7 separate regions of the Homo sapiens genome follow, and all the other regions are linked to region 1. Evidence: promoter capture Hi-C in 16 types of primary human blood cells and fetal thymus (Javierre and others, 2016). All regions are on one chromosome and are shown on one strand. The core of a region is centred on a gene start or on the middle of the fragment in contact, and the rest is flanking DNA. Distances in the headings are between cores, read along the strand shown.

Region 1 (2,886 bases), core at 153-2,652:
TCCCCCACTCACACACAAGGACAAAGACTTCGTCTGGCTTGTTCACTACTTTGGCCCAACAGCTGGCTTAACCCGCATCTCGCCTGACACACTAGAATGACACAGTGGAATTTTTGGATGGTAGGTTTATGTGGCTTCCAAAAAACAGTAGTTTCTACTCTAGTTCCTAACTAGAAGGATTTCCTTTAGAATCATAAAATGCAAATTTAAGCAATCCTATCAGAAGTTGGTTAAAAAAAGTACCCAAAACCCAAAAGTTAGTCATGAAATATGTATACTCTTACATGACTGGTGGCCACAATATGGTTGGTTAATTGCTTTTTGATAAAGCAATATAACATACAGCAAATGCCATTTAAGGTAACACTATATTTTGTCCCAGTATTCCCAATAAAGAAAATGCAAGCGAGTAATTCAACAGCAGTTACGCATATCGTTTTCGAATAATGTTAACCTATTTTCTAAAGCCTGCACAGCATATTACATGCACAAATAATCCAACAAGGTTAACTAGAGCTCAGCAACGGGTTATGTTAGAAACTGAGTTAATGCAGTTGTGGGTTACATTACAAATGTACACGGTTATGGGAATTTTCCCCGTAATTCTTTAAAAACTTTTAATATTAGTCTAAAATATTGCCAAACGTTTTAAGAGTTGGGTCTCGCTCTTAGGTAGAATTCGAGTAACCACAGACACAATTAACATTTACACACCAAAGAACCCATCATTAGCACGACAACCGTCCCGGGTGGGGGCGGGGCGGGACCTTCAGACCTCGTCTTTCATGGGAACACACCTGCCTCTCCTTTCCCAAGAGACTGAAGTTTTTCTCAAATACAGGTTAGCTCGAAAAGTCCACCAAGACAGTGACACAAACTCAGTTCGTTTTTCCCCTTCCCTTGCGACTTTTGTCTCTCCCGCTGGACGGCAGCCCAGCGGACCAGCGAGGGGTACCCGCGGCTCGGGGAGCGCGTCCGCTCGGCAAACATTAACCCGGCTGCCCCGGGCCCTCCGCCCCGGCCCGTCGCGCGGTATCGACCGAAACTCGGCGGCCCTGCCTCATTGGCCGCCGCCGCCCCTCCCTCCGGCGGGATTAATGCCCTGCCGGCCCGACGAGAGAGGGGCCGGCCGCCCTAGGGTCTGGGTGCGGCCCCCGCCCGCCTCCCCGGGGACAAGGCCGCTACCGCAGGCGCGGGCGAGGAAGGGTCCACTCGGCTAGGAGCGCAGCGGACTGTACTGCGGCGCCGCCGCCGGGCCTCGCGCTTACCTGAGCTGGGGACGGCGCAGCCCCGGCGACCAGAGCGGGGAAGAGCCGAGCAAGGCTGAGAAAGGGGCGGCTCCTCGGTAGACGCCGAGAAATGGCGCCCACAACGAGCCCACCGGCTCTAATCCCCGGAGGACCCCGACCTCCCGCCCGTCCACCCCTTAAAGCTCCCTCCCAGCTCCGCCCCCAGGGCGGAGCGCTCCGCTCTTAAACGGGCGATGACACCGCCCCGGAAATTGGCCGGCGCGGCGACTGGAGAGAAACCGGCGAGGCCGGGCCCGGCCGGGCTGGAACTAGCGCCAGCAGCCGGGCGTCCGCGGCTGGTTTAAAGGGGCGCTGCCGAAACCCAGTTCCCGCTGCGGCCCTCCGCCCGCGGAGGAGGCGCCCGTCCGCAGACAGACCCCAGTTAGTCCTATCACGAAGGAGGCTGGTGGAGCTGGCTGCTAGATTCATTCATCCATTCGTTCAAGAGATTAAATCCTTCGCAAATACTTATTGAGAGCCTGTCACGTATTTCCTCCCTTTTTCTCCTTTGTAGGGATTAAAATACATTTAAATCTCTGCTGTTAAAGTGACTTTCACTCTACTGGGGAAACAGTAAACAAATAGGTGTCACAAGGTGATTAAGTGTAAATGAGGAAAAATAAAACTGGGAAAGAGAAATAAAAGATTACTGCTTAGCAGAGTGTGGTCAGGAGGGTACTCTAACAAGGTGACATTCAGTCCGTTCATTCTACAGGTAATTGATTGAAGTGCCTACTTACTGTGAGTTCTGTGTTCTAGACACGAGATACGACAGACAACCAAGACAGACAAAAATCCTTCCCGGAGTTTACGTTATAGCAGGAATATAAACGAGACATAAAATAAACGAGATAAATTAGTGAAATTAAATACTGTCAGACATTGGTAAATGCTAAAAAGAAAAGTACAAGTAGGGAATAACCACAGGCAGTGAGGGTTTGCGATTTTACATAGCAGGTCACAATAAGAAGGTGGCATTTGGCTGGGCGCGGTGGCTCACTCCTGTAATCCCAACACTTTGGGAGGCCGAGGCGGGCGGATCACGAGGTCAGGAGATCGAGACCAGCCTGGCCAACACTGTGAAACTCCGTCTCCACTAAAAATACAAAAATTAGCTGAGCCTGGTGGCGTCCGACTGTAGTCCCAGCTACTCAGGAGGCTGAGGCAGGGGAATCGCTCGAACCCGGGAGGCGGAAGTTGCAGTGAGCCCAGATCACGCCACTGCACTCCAGCCTGGCGACAAAGCCAGACTCAGTCTCAAAAAAAAAAAAAAAGGTAGCATTTGAATGAAGACCTAGAGGAGGTGTGGGAGGAACCCTGTGGCCATCTGGGGAGAACCGAAGGGAACAGCAAGGGCAAAAGGCCCTGCAAGGGGACAGGTCTGTCTTTTCAAGGAAGTCCAGTGTGGCTAGAAGTGAGGAAGCAAGAGGAAGAGGAGGTGACAGTCAGAGAGGAAAGGGGTAAGATGTAGGGCCTTGTGGGCCCTGGCTAGAGCTCTGAGAGAGGTGGGGGAGCCACTGGAAGGTGTTACCTTGAGGACCCTCTGCTTGCTGAAATGAAAAGAGACAAATACTCATTGAGCTTCTTCTCGGGATTT
Region 2 (2,886 bases), core at 185-2,684, 250 kb after region 1:
TGGGGAGGGGATCCTTTCAGACATAATGCTTGTGAATATTGAATGCTACTGTATGTTTTAATAACAGTCACAGAACTTCAGGCAAGAAGGAACCTTGGAGATAATCTCTTAGTGGCGACCCCTTCATTTTCACACCAGATTAGACTGAAGCCCAGAACTAAACAACTTGCCCAATGCCATGCATAAACCAGTGGAAGATTAAATACTACAACTCAGATTTTCTAAGCAGTCAGACCTAAAGCTATGCTCTCCAATACTATAGCTACTAGCCACATCTGGCTATAAATTTAAATTGATTTAAATTAAATACAATTTTAAATTGAGTTTCTCAGACACACTCGTCACATTTTAAGTGCTCCATAGCCACACATGATTAATGGCTACCATAACTAACAGTGCAAAAAATATTTCTATGATATTTGTCAATTATACTTCAATAAAGTTGAAGGAAAAAAGAATATTTCCATCATTGCAGAAAGTTTAATTGGACAGAACCGATCTAAAGAATAAGTTTTAGAGAATTCCACTTACTAGAAGTATGAGCCTAGACAAGTTATTTCATTTCCCTTAGCTTCTATTTGGCAGGGAGAGGACAGGGGATTAATAATACCTACCTCATAAAGCATACTTGGTGAGTGGGACAACATGAAAAGCCCCTTATACAGGATCTGACACTTAACAGACAATAAATATTAACACTCTTCCCCTCTGGGTCCTTTTTTCTTTCTACTACTCTATATAACCTCCTTGTTAAAAAATACAAACACAATAACCAACCCAAATTGATATTTTCCTCATGATAGTCTATACGATGTAATTTTCATTTTGTTCTTACTAATTAATTCAAATACTTGCATCTCTCTTCCAAAGTTTCTACTTAAGAATAATGAAATGAAGAATGAATGTGAGGGAAGATATCTCTAATGAAATGAAAGAGTCTAATAAATTTCCCCTCCTCTTTTTCCCCATTCATGCAAAAGATAAGAAATTATGCTGTTCCTAGACAATGGTACTTTCATATCAATAAAGAAGATTCTACGGTATTTCTACATTATATCCTATCTCATCATCTATACTACTCATTAAATATTAAATGAAGAGATAACACCTCCTTCCTACAGTGCTTTCCTGGCAAACAATAAAAAGGATTTTCAGAATGCTAAGCCAAACTTCAAGGCTTCACAGCTTATTCTAGTAAACTGGCAAATTTAACAAATCTGGATTATAGTACATAAAAAACTTCATAACATGCAATAACCCAGGAAAACAACAAAATTCAACTCAGTTAGTAAACTTCTACCAATAACTAAATTTTACATAGGAGCAACAATTCATATTTAGCCACAATAACCATTCCTAGGGAGTTGATCAATTTTGCATTCTAACTAAGAATTTAGGCAAAACTTTAAAACATTTGCCCCTAAACATACACCAAACAAGATTTCCACGTTTCTGGAAAACTTTTCTTGTTTAAAAGTGGCCATATTAACTCTCAAGCGGGGGGCAGAAGTACTCTCAATAACAAACCTCCTTGCAATTTTCTGCTAGTCTCTTACTTTGCTCCTTAAAGACAACTTACTAAAAACCATGATCACTGATCCCGCTTTTAGAGTTTGTAAGTCATAAATAAATACTAAACAGATAACAATGGATACTGTACTGTACACCTCAATTATGTTTAACAGACAAAACTATTTTAAAAATACAAATCACAGTTTAATAACAACCTAACGAAGTCATACAAGTTAAAAAAAAAAGCTGAAAAGTTTTTATTACCATCTCACGTAAATTGTATTACTATCCCACTTTATTATACTTTTTTTTTAAAGTTAGGCATCTATGCTCAAACTGATTAAATCGAGTATGAGAGATCTATACTTTTTTTAAAAGTCCTTCAACAATAATGAAGTGTACACTGGTCACAGAATAGTTCAAATGAAATTTCCTGAGGCTGCATTCTAAGTACATCCGACCCAGAAAGTATTTTTAGCAAGTACGTTCAATCAATGCTGGTTTTATGCCTAGCCTAAATTAGAAATTGGGTGTTATAAATTTAAAGTAACAATGTTACTAGGGACATTTTAAAAGATATTTAATTAGAACATAAGAAAAAAACACAAGTTTGACTCAATTCAATACCTACAGCTCTGAAGCTAAGATGTTAGAAAATGGGCAGTAAGAAAAATCACATCCTCGTCTATTACTACTTTTGAGGAACTCGTGATTTTCTAACTTAATAAACATGGACCTACTCAATTAATATTTTTAAAAACTACAAAATAGTGGTGCCTCCTTGGATTTTAAAAACCTCTTGCCAAATTTTTAAAACAGACTGGCAACATGACAAACATTCCCATGTACAAAATAGACTGTTTCTCTTATAAATCACTGAAGATTATGATACTATGGGACCGTGCGTGTTTCAATGCAAAATGTAACAAAGATATGTGTACCATAAAAAATGCGAAGAGACATAAAAATTGCTTTTGTGGTAATTGGAGCATAAATTTATTCTAACAAAAAAACAGTGATGTCCACAAAATGATCACACTTACGAGCTAGTGAAGAGGTTCTGTAGAATACACAAACTTCTGCTTACGAGTTTTTTCTTTAAAAGAAAGCTGAATTTATATTAGTCAAATTCAAGATTTAGATGATATACCTAGCTCTATTCCATTAAGCACAGTTTAGGCTCTGAACAATCCTTTATTTTAAGGCCATCTCCTTCCCCCTTAAAATTGAAAAAAAATTTTTTTCCTCTGGCACGTTAAAGTTCAGAAAACCAAGATTTAAAAATGCCCTGGCTTTTACTGTTCCAGTCTTCTTTCTACTCTAATTGTCTTTTGCAAGTCGGACACATTGGCCTTTTATCTTTCTCCATAAATA
Region 3 (2,886 bases), core at 289-2,788, 230 kb after region 1:
GCAAATGAGTGCAAAGCAGCAAAAACAGGGCACCCATTTCAACCAATCATTAAGCTCTCAAAATACAAATATTTCGATGTTACTATGATGCACTCATCTGGAATTTAGTAAAAAAAAAAAAAGGGATTTCAGCCAGGCGTGGTGGCTCACACCTGTAATACCAAGGCAGGAGGATCCCTTGAGCCCAGGAGTTGAAGACCAGCCTGGGGAACATAGGGAGATCCTGTCTCTACACATTTTTTTTTTTAATTAGCCGGGAGTAGTGGTACATGCCTGTGGTCTCAGCTACTCAGTAGGCTGAGGTGAGAGGATAGCTTGAGCCTGGGGGGTTGAGGCTGTAGTGAGCCATCATCATACCACTGATCTCCAGCCTGGATGACAGAGTGAGGTCGTCTCAAAAAAAAAAAGGGGGGTGGGGGGGTTTCATAGCCTAACACAGGGGTCTTTCTTTTCTATTACAAATGTCACAACAACTGTAATATCTAGTAAGCCACTGATTCACTCTAAATCTGTTACTGTCTATCTATTACCTTGGAGCAGTCACTTCATTTTTCTGAACCTCAACTTCCTCATCTGTAAAATGATAGAACTTTTTGTGATCTATAATCTGTACTGTCCTATATAGGAACCATGCCACATAGGATGACTAAACATTTGAAATGTGACTCATATAACTTAAGAATTTTTTTTTCTTTTCGTTTTTTAGACGGAGTCTCGCTCTGTCGCCCAGGCTAGAGTGCAGTGGCATGACCTCGGCTCGTTGCAACCTCTGCCTCCCAGGTTCAAGCAATTCTCCTGCCTCAGCCTCCTGAGTATCTGGGATTACAGGCGCCTGTCTCCACACCCGGCTAATTTTTTTGTATTTTTAGTAGAGACGGGGTTTCACCATGTTGGCCAGGCTGGTTTTGAACTCCTGACCTCAAGTGATCTGCCCGCTTTGGCCTCCCAAAGTGCTAGGATTACAGGCGTGAGCCACCGCGCCCAGCCAAGAATTTTTTATATTTAATTTAAATGGCTACATTTGGCTAGTGGTTATCCTACTGGACAGTGTGGGACTACAGGAACACTAAATATCCTTCTAATTCTAAAATTCGATCACTGCCAATTTCCAACATTTAAAAAAAATTCCTTTCTCCCTAAAATTGAGTAAATAAATGAATCTAATAATATATAACACAATCACGCAGGAAAAAAAGCATTCCAGTAATTGTTAAATATAATAGTATTAAAATTGACAAACATTTTCAGTAAGGAGCCAGGCAGAAAATATTTCAGGCTTTACAGGCCATTAAGATCTCTGGTATAACTACTTAATTCTACCTATGTAGCATGAAAGCAGCCATAAACAATATGTAAACGAATGAGTATGGCTGTATTCTAAATTCAGATATTGAAGTCTGAATTTCATGTAATTTTCATGGGTCATGAAATATTTTTTATTTTTTAAAAGAACTTAAAAACTTAAAAAGCATTCTTAGTTCACAGGCCATACTGAAAAGGTGGTGGTCAGATTTGACCCACAGGCCACAGTTTGCTAACCACAGCAGAATACACTGAAGATAAATCAAAAGAAATATAAAAAACTCCGAACTTTATAAAGTTTGTTGTTGACAGTGGTCTTGATGCAACATTCTGAAACTATTTTGTGTCTATTATAGGATTGAACAAATGAATAAATATTAATATTGTTGAGAACCAGGAGTCTGGCTACAGGACACAAGAGGTCAGATATGGCATCAGAGATGGTTGCAGTACTGGATGAGAATTAGAGGCATTGGTTAATCTCATTTTTAAAAAATTATCCACTAGAACCTAGAAGTCAAAATACTCCAATAACACTGAATATACTTAACCTACTATATACTATTCCTCACTAAAAGAAATTAGGACTCTGGAGAAAAAAGGCTGATTTCAGAGCTGGGGCAAGGAAAATACAAGGTGAGGCTAAATGTCTTGTACTGGTAAGTAAGGAAGTAAGCCCTCAAAATCTAACTGAGGACTAGTCAAAGAAAAAGAGAGGCAGTTTAAAGAAACTCCTATCAGGAAATATGAAACAACTTAAGTTCCAAAATAAATAATAGATTATAATACTCTGAATAAAAATCCATAAGTCCAGAGTGATGCTAATGTTTTTAAGTGAGGGAGAGGAATAACTTTTTAAAAATAATATCTAATGATAAATATAGAAGGAAGAACAGAAATAGAAAAATGCCATTTTACAGTTACTATAACTGATTCAGGCAAGACTTAACAAATGCTAAAATCACTGGGTGAGAGTTGTTGGGTAACAAGATACATAATCCAAAAGTATCACCCCATAAATTACTTATTAATTACAAAGGGGAAACGATATCTTTACAATGGAGAAATCTGTCATATCCCACCTTAACCAAATAATCAAATTTAACATCACCAAAACTGGTATCATAGACACCCTGATGTCATATACTGAGAACATAACACCTTATATAGTGTTCTTGCCAAAAATGTTTAACTTGAATCTAGTGATGAAATAAAACTAAAACAATGAGACAAATCCAAATTGAGGAACATTCTAAAAAACAATTTGCCTGGATTCTTCGAAAATGTGAGGAGTAGATGTAAAAGGATGGGGGAGCGTTGTAGATTTAAAAAGATAAAACAACCTACTGCAATGTGTAGCTCTTGATCCAATCATGGATTTGGCGGGGGGTTAGGGTAGAAAGTATAAGGGACTTGCTTGAACAATTGGAGAAATCTGGAATACAGACTGAGTTTTAGGTAATATTATTGTGTCAATGCTAAATTTCCTGAGTGTGATCATGCTACATAGAAGAATGTGTTTATTACCAAAAGATGCATGATTACATGCTGAAACATTTAGGTTAAGTGTTATGATCATGATAT
Region 4 (2,886 bases), core at 240-2,739, 200 kb after region 1:
TCTTCCAGCCGAGGACTGATACATAATGGAGCAAAATTAAGCCTTTTGTGTGTGTGTGTGAATCTCTGACTCACGGAATCCCTGAGGACAATACATGGTTATTTTATGCCACTAAGTTTTAGGGTAATTTCTTACGCAGTCACAGTAACTAAAATAGGCTGGTCCTCCCAGCCCTTCCTTGTTCATCATACAGGCTAACGTTAATCAGCTGCACCAAAGTAAAAGTCAAGTCAAAAATTAGGGGTAAAAATCCTCATAGATTGAAGACATCAATCCATGTAGTACGGACACTATGCATTTTAAAGTATTTAATGCAAACATATTTAGTGAGTTGTTAATGCAAACATATTTGGTGAGATGAATTCTCATATCATGAATTCATTTAGTGACAATGAATTCACGGCATGAGAGGGACAATACACTCCATAGGTTGGCCACAGTAAATAAATGGTTATACCAAAGCCACAGTGAAAATAGGACTTGACATTGAAACAACACAAGCCAACACAAACCCAGTGATAACAGGCTTATCATTCCTATGTCCACAGCAGAGAAAAAGCAAGATCTAGTGAAGTTACATCAACTCCTTCATTACAAAAATTTCCCTCAGAAAATACAGAAACGGCTTTGATGAGATAACTACCAGATGAAACAAAGCAGGCTTTGGCAACATGAATATTTTACCTGTGGTGCAAAAATCTTTCATGAAAAGCAATGACTCCAATGCCTGGTAGTCTCCAAAGGAAACTGAGTAGTTCTCCTTCTTGGTGAACAGAGAAATGCTGGTGAACCTGGCAGCTGCCCACAAAGGATTTCTGAGACTTAATGGTACTAAGTGGACACAAGAAAACAAACACCAAAACTTTCAAACCCCCAATTAGTTTGCAGGCTGCCACATACCACTCCACAGGTTGTAAAGTACATAACTGGAGATCTATTCACATGGATTAAAAGATAAATAATCTACCTAAAAGTACAAAGCAACTCTTTTGGTTTGAATGGCTTGGGTTCAAATACCCAGAGGAATAAATATACCACATAACCAGCAATTTTTCATAAATATTGTTCCTCTTAAGTTTTTTGATGACCTGAGATAATGGTAGAGAAAGTTTCTAGCACCACAGAATGGTAAGCTTACTTACCATTCTAGGTAATATATCCAGGTCTATTGAAACTGCCAGCTAAATATATGTAATATATATTTTTAAAATATAAACATATAAAAGTACATTAATATATATGTCTTTCTAAAAGAGTAACTAGACAGCACATTGATTACTACACTGAAAAATACAGCATACTACTGTTAACTAAAGTGCTCAACAGAAAATTATGCTAGCTGAGAAACATACCAAACCTTTTTACAATATTTTGAAATACATTCAAAACTATAGTTAAAATGAAAACTAAATAGTAGCTAAATTTAAGCTAAGACAAAAGTTATTAAATTTATGCCTTTTCCAAAAAAGAATTCTAACACGTGAATAATAGGAAAAAAGGCTTATTTTCTTACATCAACTGTCTAATACATGAGAGTTTCTATTAAATAGAAATTTGTACGAAGTAGAATTCTCTTCACTTTATGTTATCTCTGTTTGGCAACCTATATTCCAACTATATATTAACAGATGATAGAATACAAAAGAAATCAAAAGTTTAGCTTTTTAGAAAAGCACACTAAATCCTAAATCTGTTGGGTATTTTAGATAATGTTGAAGGTATTTTTAATGATAATGATGTAATATTCACTACTCTGCAGCCCCTTTTTCAATGTGAAATAGCTTGGAATTTGAGATAAATTCATAATCCTGCTATATAGTAATACACAGAAAATTTTAAGCTTAAACTGGTAAATAAGAAAGATTCATTTTTTGTATTATTATACTTTAAGTTCTAGGGTACATGTGCACAACATGCAGGTTTGATACCTAGGTATACATGTGCCATGTTGGTTGGCTGCACCCATCAACTCATCATTTACATTGGGTATTTCTCCTAATGCTATCCCTCCCCCAGCCCCTAATCCCCCGACTGGCCCCGGTGTAAGATTCATATTTTATATTACTTAAAGATTTCAAAGTGTGGAAATACCCAAGTAATACAGCAGAAAACATCCTGAAAAATTTGGAAATACCAAAACATCCTGAAGAATAAGAATTCCAGTTTGAATACAGACTGCATATATTATTATTTTCATAAAGTTAAATTTAGGGATGTGGTAATTATGAGATTCTCGGAATACTGAAGTACTTACTTTCAAAAGGTTCAGGAAAAAAAAGTCATGTAGAGAGAAGGAAACATAAAGTAAATGTGCAAAATGTTAACACTGGGTCAATTTAGGTAAAGGGTATAAGGGTATTCATTATAATATTATTTCACCTTTTCCATATAGGTTGAAAAGTTTTTAAATAAAAAGGGAGAATACACTTTTATATGTATCAAGATATGTACAAGAATGTTCACAGCAGTATTATTTGTAAGAGCCCAAAGTGGAAACAAATCCAAATATATACCAACAATAAACTGGACAAGTAAATGGTAAATGAAAGGATAAGTAAACTATAGTATATTCATACAAAAGGGTACTACAGAGCAGTAACAATGAACTAACTACTGTTAACACACCACATGGGTAAAACTCACAAATAACGATGAGCAAACAAAGCTAGACACAAATAGGATGAACAAATATTTGTTAAATAAATATTTCAGACGATAGATAAGATCAGGGCTGTCATTTATTTTTGTTTGGCAAAAATTTTACTCACAGACAGTACAAGTAAAATTACCATGAATATGTATAAATTATTTAGAAGAACAAATTCTTTTCAGGCACCCTCAAGCACATTTATGAAAACCACACACATACTATGGATCTGCTCTACT
Region 5 (2,886 bases), core at 121-2,620, 180 kb after region 1:
TCTAGTATGATGATGCCAACAGGTTACTTGCAGAAGTAAATAAAAGTCCTCTCTGTAGGAATTCAAATTTCAACCAGGACTCAAATATTGGCAGAGTATATATAAAAAACATGACCCAGATATATGTTGTCTCAAAGAAACTCAAAATATAATGATATAGGTAGATTGAAGGTAAATGATGAAAATGATTCACCATGCAAACATTAATCAAAAGAAAGATGTGCCTATAATATCAAATAAAATAGATTTCAGAGCTAAAGAGTTTAACAGGGACAAAGAATTATTATACAATGACCAAAGGGCCAATCCACCAATAAGACATAGCAATCCTAAATGTGTATGCACCAAAATAATATTTAAAAAGAATGTTGGAGAACTCACACTTCCTGATTTCAAAAGTTTCTACGAACCTATAAGACAACGTGGTGCTTCTATAAGGGTAGACATTGGAACAAAAAATAATAGAGAGTCCAAAAATAAACTATTCCATTTATTGTTGATTTGTAACAAGAATACCAAGACCACTCAAGTGAAAATGAATTATTGTAGGTGTCCCCAACCCCTAAGCCATAACCAGTATCAGTCCATGGCCTGCTAGGAACCAGGCCACAAAGCAGGAGGTGAGCGATGGGCGGGAGAGTATTGAGCTAGCAAGCATTACTGTCTAAGCTGCACCTCCTCAAATCAGTGATAGCATTAGATTCTCATAGGAACATGAACCCTATTGTGAACTGTGCATGAAAGGGATCTAGGTTGCAAACTCCTTATTAGAATCTAATGCCAGATCTCAGGTAGAACTGTTTCATCCCCAAACCACGCCCTACTGCCACCCCCCATCCATGGAAAAATTGTCTTCCTTGAAACCAGTCCCTGGTGCCAAAAAGTTTGGGTACTGCTGAATTATTGTATTAGTCTGTTCTCATATTGCTACAAAGAAATACCCAAGACTGGGTAATCTATAAAGAAAAGAAGTTTAATTGGCTCACAGTTCCACAGGCTGTACAGGAAGCATGATGCTGGCATCTGCTTGGCTTCTGGGGAGGCCTCAGGAAACTTACAATCATAGTGGAAGGCAAAGAGAGAGCAAGGTGTCTCATGTGGCAGAAGCAGGTGCAGGAGAGAGAGGGTGAGCCAGGCACGGTGGCTCATGCCTGTAGCACTTTGGGAGGCCAACGCAGGTGGCTCACTTGAGGTCAGGAGCTCGAGACCAGCTTGGCCAACATGGTGAAACCCCGTCTCTACTAAAAATAAAAAATTAGCGGGGCGTGGTGACGGGCGCCTATAATCTCAGCTACTCTGGAGGCTGAGGCAGGAGAACTGCTTGAACCTGGAAGGCTGAGGCTGCACTGAGCCAAGACCGCGCCACTGCACTCCAGCCTGGGTGACAGAGACTCGTCTCAAAAAATAGAGAGAGAGAGAGGGCAGAGGTGTTACACCAGGTATCATGAGAACTCACTATTGCGAGGACAATACCAAGAGAAATGGTGCTAAGCCATTCATGAGAAACCACCCTTATGATCCAATCACCTCCCACCAGGCCCCACCTCCAACACTGGGGATTACAATCTGACATGAGATTTGGGTGGGTACACAGATTCAAACCATATCAATTATCATTTCAACAAATGGTGCTGAGACAAAAAGATATCCACATACAAAAGAATAAATTGGACCCCTACCTCATACCATATAGAAAATTAACTCCAAATGAAGTTTGGACCTAAAATTAATAGCTAGAACTACAAAAGTCTTGGAGGAAAATATAGGAATACACACCTTTGTGACTATGGCCCATGAAACATTATTATGCAGTAAATGACTGCAGTCTCAAAAATAGTGTAACCTACAATGGTTACAATGTAACCACTTGACACCTACTAAGATAGCTATTAAAAAAAAAACCTGGAAAATAACAGTGTTGGTAATGATATGTATAAATAGGCACCCTGGTACATTGCTGGTGGGAATTTAAAATGGTGCAGACACCATGTAAAACAGCTTGGCAGTTTCTTAAAGGTTAAACACTGAATTATCACGTGATCCAGAAATGCTCCTCCTAGGTATAGACTCCAAAGAATTGAAAACAAAGACTTGAACAGATACTTGTATGCCAATGTTTGCAACATTAATCACATAAGTAAAAGGTAGAAACAACCCAAGTGCCTGTCAGCAGATGAATGAGTAAACAAAATGTGGTATACCCATACAATAAAACATTATTCTGGAATGAAAAAAAAGTGAAAGTTCTGATACATGCTACATGCTTCCTTGAAAACATTAAGCTAAGTGAAATAAGCCAAACACAATAAGACATATATTGTATGATTCTACTTATAACCAATATCTAGACTAGGTAAATTCATAGAGAAACAAAGATTCGAGGTTAACAGGAGCTGAGGGGAGAGAATCATGGGAACAACTGCCACATGGCTAGAGTTTCTGTTTGGCAAAATAAAAAGTTGGAAGTAGACATGAAAGGTTATACAACATTGTGAACTTAATTGATACCACTGAATTGTATATATAAAAATGGCTAAAGTGGTAAATTTCGTTATATGTATTTTACAACAATTTTTAAAAATTAATTCTGTGATACATAAAAACATTGAACCATACACTTTTAAAAGGTGAATCATCCACTTTAATGTGAATCACATCTCAATTAAACCGTTCAAAAAAAACACACAAAGTAAAAAGCTGACAGTCCTAAAAGAAGAAATGGACAAATCCCTCATAGTAGGAGATTTCAGCATGAGAAACAAAAATCACTGACAAACCACAGAAAGAGTGAGATAAGAATTGGAAACCTAAATGGTCAACAAATATATGGGAAGAAAAACCCAAAAAACACAATGAATAAAGGGTGGTGGATAGTGGACATTCTTA
Region 6 (2,886 bases), core at 100-2,599, 160 kb after region 1:
ACACAATAATTTTAAAATTGAAATCATAGTGTTACAGGTAGTTAGGCAGGCATAAGCCAGGCAGGAGAGGGCTCTCCCCATCCACCAGGAATGTCAGGTGATCAGGTGATGGTTCCACAATTATTGCATTGCCTCTCTAAAGATAATTCAGCAGCCGGAGGCAGGGACAGACAATCTCCTGATAATCTACAGCTGTTAACATTATAAAGTGTTAATTGAATGCAGGCCCCAGGGAGAAGTAAAAAGGGCATCCAATAAAATCTCAGGTGTTGGGTGAGGGAACCCAGGCATGTGCATTAAGAGACAAAATAGCAGAGCCTGGCTTTCCGAGGGCACACCACTGGAAAAGGGAAGAAAGCCTCAGATGGGCATGTATAAAACTTCCTAAATCCACTGCATGTGCTCACTTCCAAAGGGTAAGAAGGGCACTGTGCATATGGACAGCCCACCGTAAGGAAAGAATCATGGGGAAGGGTTCCAAGATGCCAGAAGTCCTATAAAGTCCTAGGATCACAGTTAAACGTGGCACTTGACCTTCTTGGTGCCCACTTGGGTCTCTTCCAAGTGCACTTTCCTTTCTTTCCTGTTCTAAAGCTTTTTAATAAACTTCCACTCCTGCTGAAACTTGCCTCAGTCTCTTTTTCTACCATATGACCCTCAGTGGAATTCTTTCTTATAAGGAGGCAAGAATTAAGGTTGCTGCAGACCTGTAAGGATTCACTGCCGGTAACTCGGGACACCTTCCACCGGTAACAACAGTTTCAAAGCAAACCTCCCCAAAAACAAATCTCCTGGGCCTGATTTCACTGGAGAAGTCTAAAAAATACAAATCATTTAGATGAGAATTAAGAATAATTCTACACAATCTTCCTCCAGAAAACAGTAGAGGATGGAACTTCCCAAATTGCTCTATGAAACCAGCATTGGCCTGATACTTAAACAGAAAAAGACAGTATAAAAGAGAAAACTACAGACTAATGTTTCTCATGAACACAGATGCAAAAATCCTCAAAAAATATTAATAGTAGCAAGGGAACTGAGCAATATCTCAAAAGGATTATACACATGACCAAATGGGGTTTTACCACAGATGCAAGGCTGGTTCAGTGCTTAAAAATCAATCAAGTAATAATGTACAGAAAGGAACTCTATGGATCTGCTCCTGAGCATAACAACTACTATTAGGGAAAATTATAAAACAAAAACAAAAAGCAAGAATTTAGTCTTGGAGAATTCACCTAAAAGAAAGTAACAAAGAAAACAGCATTTATTCCACAAAGTCTACTCAATCTCAGTAAAATCAGCAAGACCCTGTGGCACTTGAGCCACAACCCACTCCCTCCTTCTTCTGCCCTGGCCAATGTTCCACTCTGGGAAAATATGGCCAGGAAGATGCAAATCCCTTCTTCCCCAGATCCTAGTCAAGGGATATAGGAGAGGCAGACCACCAGCACTTCTCATGCTTCCCAGCAACATTATCACAATTTAAATTCCAGAATGGTATGTCAAAGAATCAAAAGCAACCTTCCTCCACCCAAAGCCTGCAGGGCAAGACTCTACCTCAGACACAGATGGTCCAGAATACTGAGCCCTAATCACCCTTGCCTCAGCTTACTCATAGGGCAGAAATTCCATGTAGGGAGAGGCAAATCAAGTAAAGGACACTGCCCCTACAAGAGCCCTGCTTGTAAGGCAGGAGTTTCACTCCAAGAGAAGCCGAACACTGTCCCCACCCCAGCTCCAGGGCAGTGGAGAAGCTGTGTTAAAGGGAGACAGGCCACAAGAACAGAAAACTTTAAAACTCTACCCAAAGAAACTGACTTTATTTGGTAGCGAGTATAGAGAAGTTCCAGTCTAAGAGTGCTCTTGAAAACAACATACGTCAGCTAGTTTACCAGAGATAACCAGGGAAATACGATAAGCAGGTAAGACAAATAAAGTAAGAACCCTCCTAGAGTCAGAACAAACATCAAAGATTGGCCTCAAGAACTATCCCTGCAAAGGGGCTTAGATTTAACTGGATCAAGACTGTGGAACAATTTATGCTCTATTTATATACTGATGAAAAAAATGTAGAAATTAGACAATAATTATTGAAGCTTAACAGCTGCATATGAAACTGACAGAGGTAGTTAACCTAACAGAAATCAGAGGAGTCAAACAGAGCCCTGATAAACCACTGTCATCCCAGGGTGACTGTGAGAATGCCTAATGCTGTGCGCACTGTGAGAAGATATCAGAGGCTAAAATAGTTCAATCAAATCACTGAAAAACAAGTAAACAATAACGACAAGCCTTGGAAGGGAGGGGTCAATATATTATCAATAGTTACAATACACAATCTAAAATGTCCGGTTTGCTTGGATGCGGTGGCTCACACCTCTAATCCCAACACTTTGGGATGGCTGAGGTGGGTGGATTGCTTGAGCCCAGGAGTTCGACATCAGCCTGGGCAACAAGGTGAAACCCCATCTCTGCAAAAACAGTACAAAATTAGCCAGATGTGTTTCTGTGTGCCTGTAATCCCAGCTACTCAGGAGGCTGAGGGGGAAGATCAACTGAGTCTGGGAGGTTGAGGCTGCAGTGAACCATGATCACAACCACTGCACTTCAGCCTGGGTGACAAAGCAACACCCTATCTCAAAAACATATAAAATAAAGTAAAACGTCAAGTTTAAACGAAAACATAACACAGGAGAAGAAACAGAAACATATAAGAGAAACAGAAGAAAAATAGCAGGTAACAGGAACTGCTCGTGAGAGGGCCTACATGTCAGACTGAACAATACTTCAAAGCAGTCATTATAAATATATCCACAGAACTAAAGGAGACCATGCTTAAAGAGGTAATGAAAGGTATGATGACAATATCTCAGATACAAAATA
Region 7 (2,886 bases), core at 99-2,598, 140 kb after region 1:
CGTGAGAAGAACAGGCACTCTCATACATAGCTTCTGAAAGTATAAATTGTACCATCTCAATGGAGGATAACTTGGCAAAATTTATCAAATTATAAAATGCATATGCCAAGACTCAGCATTATTTTTATTATTTTTAGTGAGACATATTTCACGCACCACAAAATTTACCATTTTAACATGTATGTGTCATTATACTTTAGTATATTCCCTACGGTGTGCAACCATCATCACTATCTAATTCCAGAATATTTCCATCACCCTCAAAGGTAATCTTGTACCTATTCGCAGTCAGTCTCAATGTACCCTTCCCTGTTGCCCCTAACAATCACTAACCTACATTCTGTCTCTACAAATTTACCTGTTTTGAACATTTCGTAAGAATGGAATCATACAACAGGTTGCCTTTTGTGTTTGTCTGCTTTCACAGACAAGGTTTTCTTGGTTCATCTACATTGTGGCATGTAACAATAACTCATTCCTTTTTATGGCTGATACTGGGTTGTGTCTACTTTTCGACTATTATGAATAATACTGCTATGAACATTTGTGTACACATTTTTGTGTGAACACATGTCTTCAATTCTCTTGGGTACATGCCTAGGAGTAGTATTGTTGGGTCACAGGATAATTGTATATTTAACTTTTTGAGAAACTGCCAAACTTGTTTCCACAATGGCTGTACCTTTTACATCTCCAATATCAATGTATAAAGATTTCCATTTCTTCACTTCCTCATCAACACTATCTTTAAAAAATTATAGCCATCCCAATGAGTGTGCTGTGGTATGCCATTCCTTTTTATTGCTGAATATTTCATTGTATAGCTATACCATATTTGGTTTATCTAGTCATCACTTGATGGACATTTGGATTGTTCCCATATTTTAGTTATTATGAATAATGTTGCTATGAACATCTGTGTATAAATTTTTGTGTGGACATACATTTTCAAGTCTCTTCAATATATATCTGGGAGTGGAACTGCTTAAAGTAACTGTTTTAATACATCTTGAAATCACATATGATAAACCCTTAATTTTGTTCTTATATAAATGAGCATTGGGGTTATATCACTACCTATATTTAGTTACAGACTGCATTTTCTTTGCCAAGAACTGCTGTACTAGCTGGATTACTGTGCTACATCTGAGAAAAGCTGAACTGTCTGCAATACAATATATATGAATTTTAAATGTCATAATATTTTATTAGAAACTATAACTATCTAGTTAACACTGATAGCTAACAAGAGACGGTACTACATCATCAACCCCATTCATGAAGGAGTGTCTACTTAGGGATGGAGCTCTGTTTCTAATCTTTTCAAACCTTTCAAAGCGATTAGACATTGCTAATCGGTTACCTGATGACTCATGGTTTCTAATCTTTTCAAAGCCAATTTCCCATTCTTTTCCCTGGGAAGAATCTCTTGTTTACTCTATATACTGCTTCACATGACAAAGTTAATTTTTGTATCTGCCAAAACGTAGTAATAAAATTTCTACATTTGAGATCTGCATGGTTTCTACTAAGAAATCCACTGGTTATTTCATTGAGGTGCACTTCTATGTGACAAGTCACTTTTCTCTTTCTCTTGCTGCTTTCAAAACTCTTTCGACCATTTTCATTGTACTTGGAGTTCAGTGAGCTTCTTCTATTTGCATATCTGTATCTTTCTGCAAATTAGGGGAAAGATACATGGCAAGACCACGTCTCTACAAAAAAAACAACAACAACAACAAAAAAAAAAAACCCAGAAAAAATTAGCCAGATGTGGTAGTGCATGCCTATAGTCCTGGTTACTCGGGAGGCTAGGAGGTTGAGGTTCAGTCTGAGAGGCTGAGGCTGCTGTAAGCCATGATCGCACCACTGCACACTGCACTCCAGTCTGGGTGACAGAGCAAGACCTTGTTTCAATCAATCAATAAAGTAATTTAACTCCAAACTGTTCAGGGTTCCTATTGTAAATAGCCTTGGTCTTAAAGAAAATATAATTTGGACAAATTACAGCCATATATTTATTTCTTCATCTGTTTCAGTATCACTTTGGAGATTAAATTCTAGCTTATATTCTTTTCCACAGTATCAAGTTTTAGATGTATACTTTTTTCCCTTAACTCATTCATTATTTGAAGCCTATTTTCTATAAGGCACTGTGTCAGGTACTGGGGTGATATAAGTTCAAAACATGGTCCCTATCCTCAAAAACTGGTAAGTCATGAAACATATCACCTCAAGAAAGTATCATCACTGCTACAGATAAAAAAGAAAGAGGTAAACTGTACCTGGGGAGTAGTGGTAGTCAGGAAAGGCTTGAGAGGGAAAGTGACTTTTACTCTGAGTCTTAAAAAATGTGAAGGTAAGAGGGGTAGGGTAAAAGATGTGACGGGAGTGAAGGATGTGAGTTAAAGGTAAGATATTTCAGGAAGAGAAAGTATTTATGCCCAAGATAGCAAAGATCAAGTACTGCCTATTTCATCTGTAAAATATTCCATTTTCTATCCATTTTTAGAAATCTTTAGCTGTAATACCTGCCATTACTCATCTTAATGGTAGCTGTATACATTGTGATATTAACCTTTTGTTTCTCTTATAAATCAATCCTATTTCTTACTAGAAATTAAGTTAGAAACTTGGGAGGAAGAGCATCTCCCAAATAAAGTAATTCTGGAGAGTCACTAGATCCAGTAAAAAACATAGGGTTTAGTAAAACAGTAGAAAGAAAAGGTGTGGAAAACTTGGATTTGATCCCAACTTTACCTTTCACTACGCTAAATAAAATAAAATTAATAACAAAAACAATGGCTAAATAAAATTAAAACAAAATTTAATAAAATTAAAAACAATACTGGAGAACTAGTGGGGTTCAATAAATCCTCGTCTGAA

Evidence for each region. The method cuts DNA at HindIII sites, captures the fragments that hold promoters and counts their contacts. A CHiCAGO score of 5 or more calls a contact.
Region 2: a fragment that was not itself captured here is called in contact with the fragment with the promoter of EPB41L5 in region 1 in 4 of 17 cell types (total B cells, naive B cells, fetal thymus and 1 more); the score reaches 9.0 in total B cells.
Region 3: a contact is called between a fragment that was not itself captured here and the fragment with the promoter of EPB41L5 in region 1, in 3 of 17 cell types (total B cells, naive CD8 T cells and total CD8 T cells). The highest score is 6.6, in total B cells.
Region 4: a fragment that was not itself captured here is called in contact with the fragment with the promoter of EPB41L5 in region 1 in 4 of 17 cell types (naive CD4 T cells, naive CD8 T cells, fetal thymus and 1 more); the score reaches 6.6 in naive CD4 T cells.
Region 5: a contact is called between a fragment that was not itself captured here and the fragment with the promoter of EPB41L5 in region 1, in 3 of 17 cell types (total CD4 T cells, naive CD8 T cells and naive B cells). The highest score is 6.2, in total CD4 T cells.
Region 6: a fragment that was not itself captured here is called in contact with the fragment with the promoter of EPB41L5 in region 1 in 1 of 17 cell types (total CD8 T cells); the score reaches 6.9 in total CD8 T cells.
Region 7: a contact is called between a fragment that was not itself captured here and the fragment with the promoter of EPB41L5 in region 1, in 1 of 17 cell types (total CD8 T cells). The highest score is 5.3, in total CD8 T cells.

Annotation. Positions count from the first base shown.
Region 1 is chr2:120,011,593-120,014,478 of GRCh38, reverse strand. It overlaps EPB41L5 (erythrocyte membrane protein band 4.1 like 5), which reads right to left and starts at 1,402. Exons shown (of 25, transcript NM_020909.4): 1 at 1,269-1,402. LOC107985817 (a long non-coding RNA gene) reads right to left here. Exons shown (of 4, transcript XR_001739205.2): 3 at 2,821-2,839; 4 at 1,775-2,086. RefSeq lists a silencer at 1,057-1,226. The HindIII fragment of the contact is 11,072 bases long and covers 1-2,886 here.
Region 2 is chr2:119,761,213-119,764,098 of GRCh38, reverse strand. The region is part of intron 1 of PTPN4 (protein tyrosine phosphatase non-receptor type 4); the gene reads right to left. Among named protein-coding and RNA genes, the nearest start is that of PTPN4, 2.7 kb to the right of the region's middle. The HindIII fragment of the contact is 3,943 bases long and covers 1-2,886 here.
Region 3 is chr2:119,780,236-119,783,121 of GRCh38, reverse strand. The region is part of intron 1 of PTPN4 (protein tyrosine phosphatase non-receptor type 4); the gene reads right to left. Among named protein-coding and RNA genes, the nearest start is that of PTPN4, 22 kb to the right of the region's middle. RefSeq lists an enhancer at 571-790. The HindIII fragment of the contact is 5,270 bases long and covers 1-2,886 here.
Region 4 is chr2:119,810,222-119,813,107 of GRCh38, reverse strand. The region is part of intron 2 of PTPN4 (protein tyrosine phosphatase non-receptor type 4); the gene reads right to left. Among named protein-coding and RNA genes, the nearest start is that of PTPN4, 52 kb to the right of the region's middle. The HindIII fragment of the contact is 707 bases long and covers 1,136-1,842 here.
Region 5 is chr2:119,829,005-119,831,890 of GRCh38, reverse strand. The region is part of intron 2 of PTPN4 (protein tyrosine phosphatase non-receptor type 4); the gene reads right to left. Among named protein-coding and RNA genes, the nearest start is that of PTPN4, 71 kb to the right of the region's middle. The HindIII fragment of the contact is 3,087 bases long and covers 1-2,886 here.
Region 6 is chr2:119,849,075-119,851,960 of GRCh38, reverse strand. All of the region lies in intron 2 of PTPN4 (protein tyrosine phosphatase non-receptor type 4), which reads right to left. Among named protein-coding and RNA genes, the nearest start is that of PTPN4, 91 kb to the right of the region's middle. The HindIII fragment of the contact is 1,505 bases long and covers 597-2,101 here.
Region 7 is chr2:119,872,036-119,874,921 of GRCh38, reverse strand. All of the region lies in intron 3 of PTPN4 (protein tyrosine phosphatase non-receptor type 4), which reads right to left. Among named protein-coding and RNA genes, the nearest start is that of PTPN4, 110 kb to the right of the region's middle. The HindIII fragment of the contact is 3,701 bases long and covers 1-2,886 here.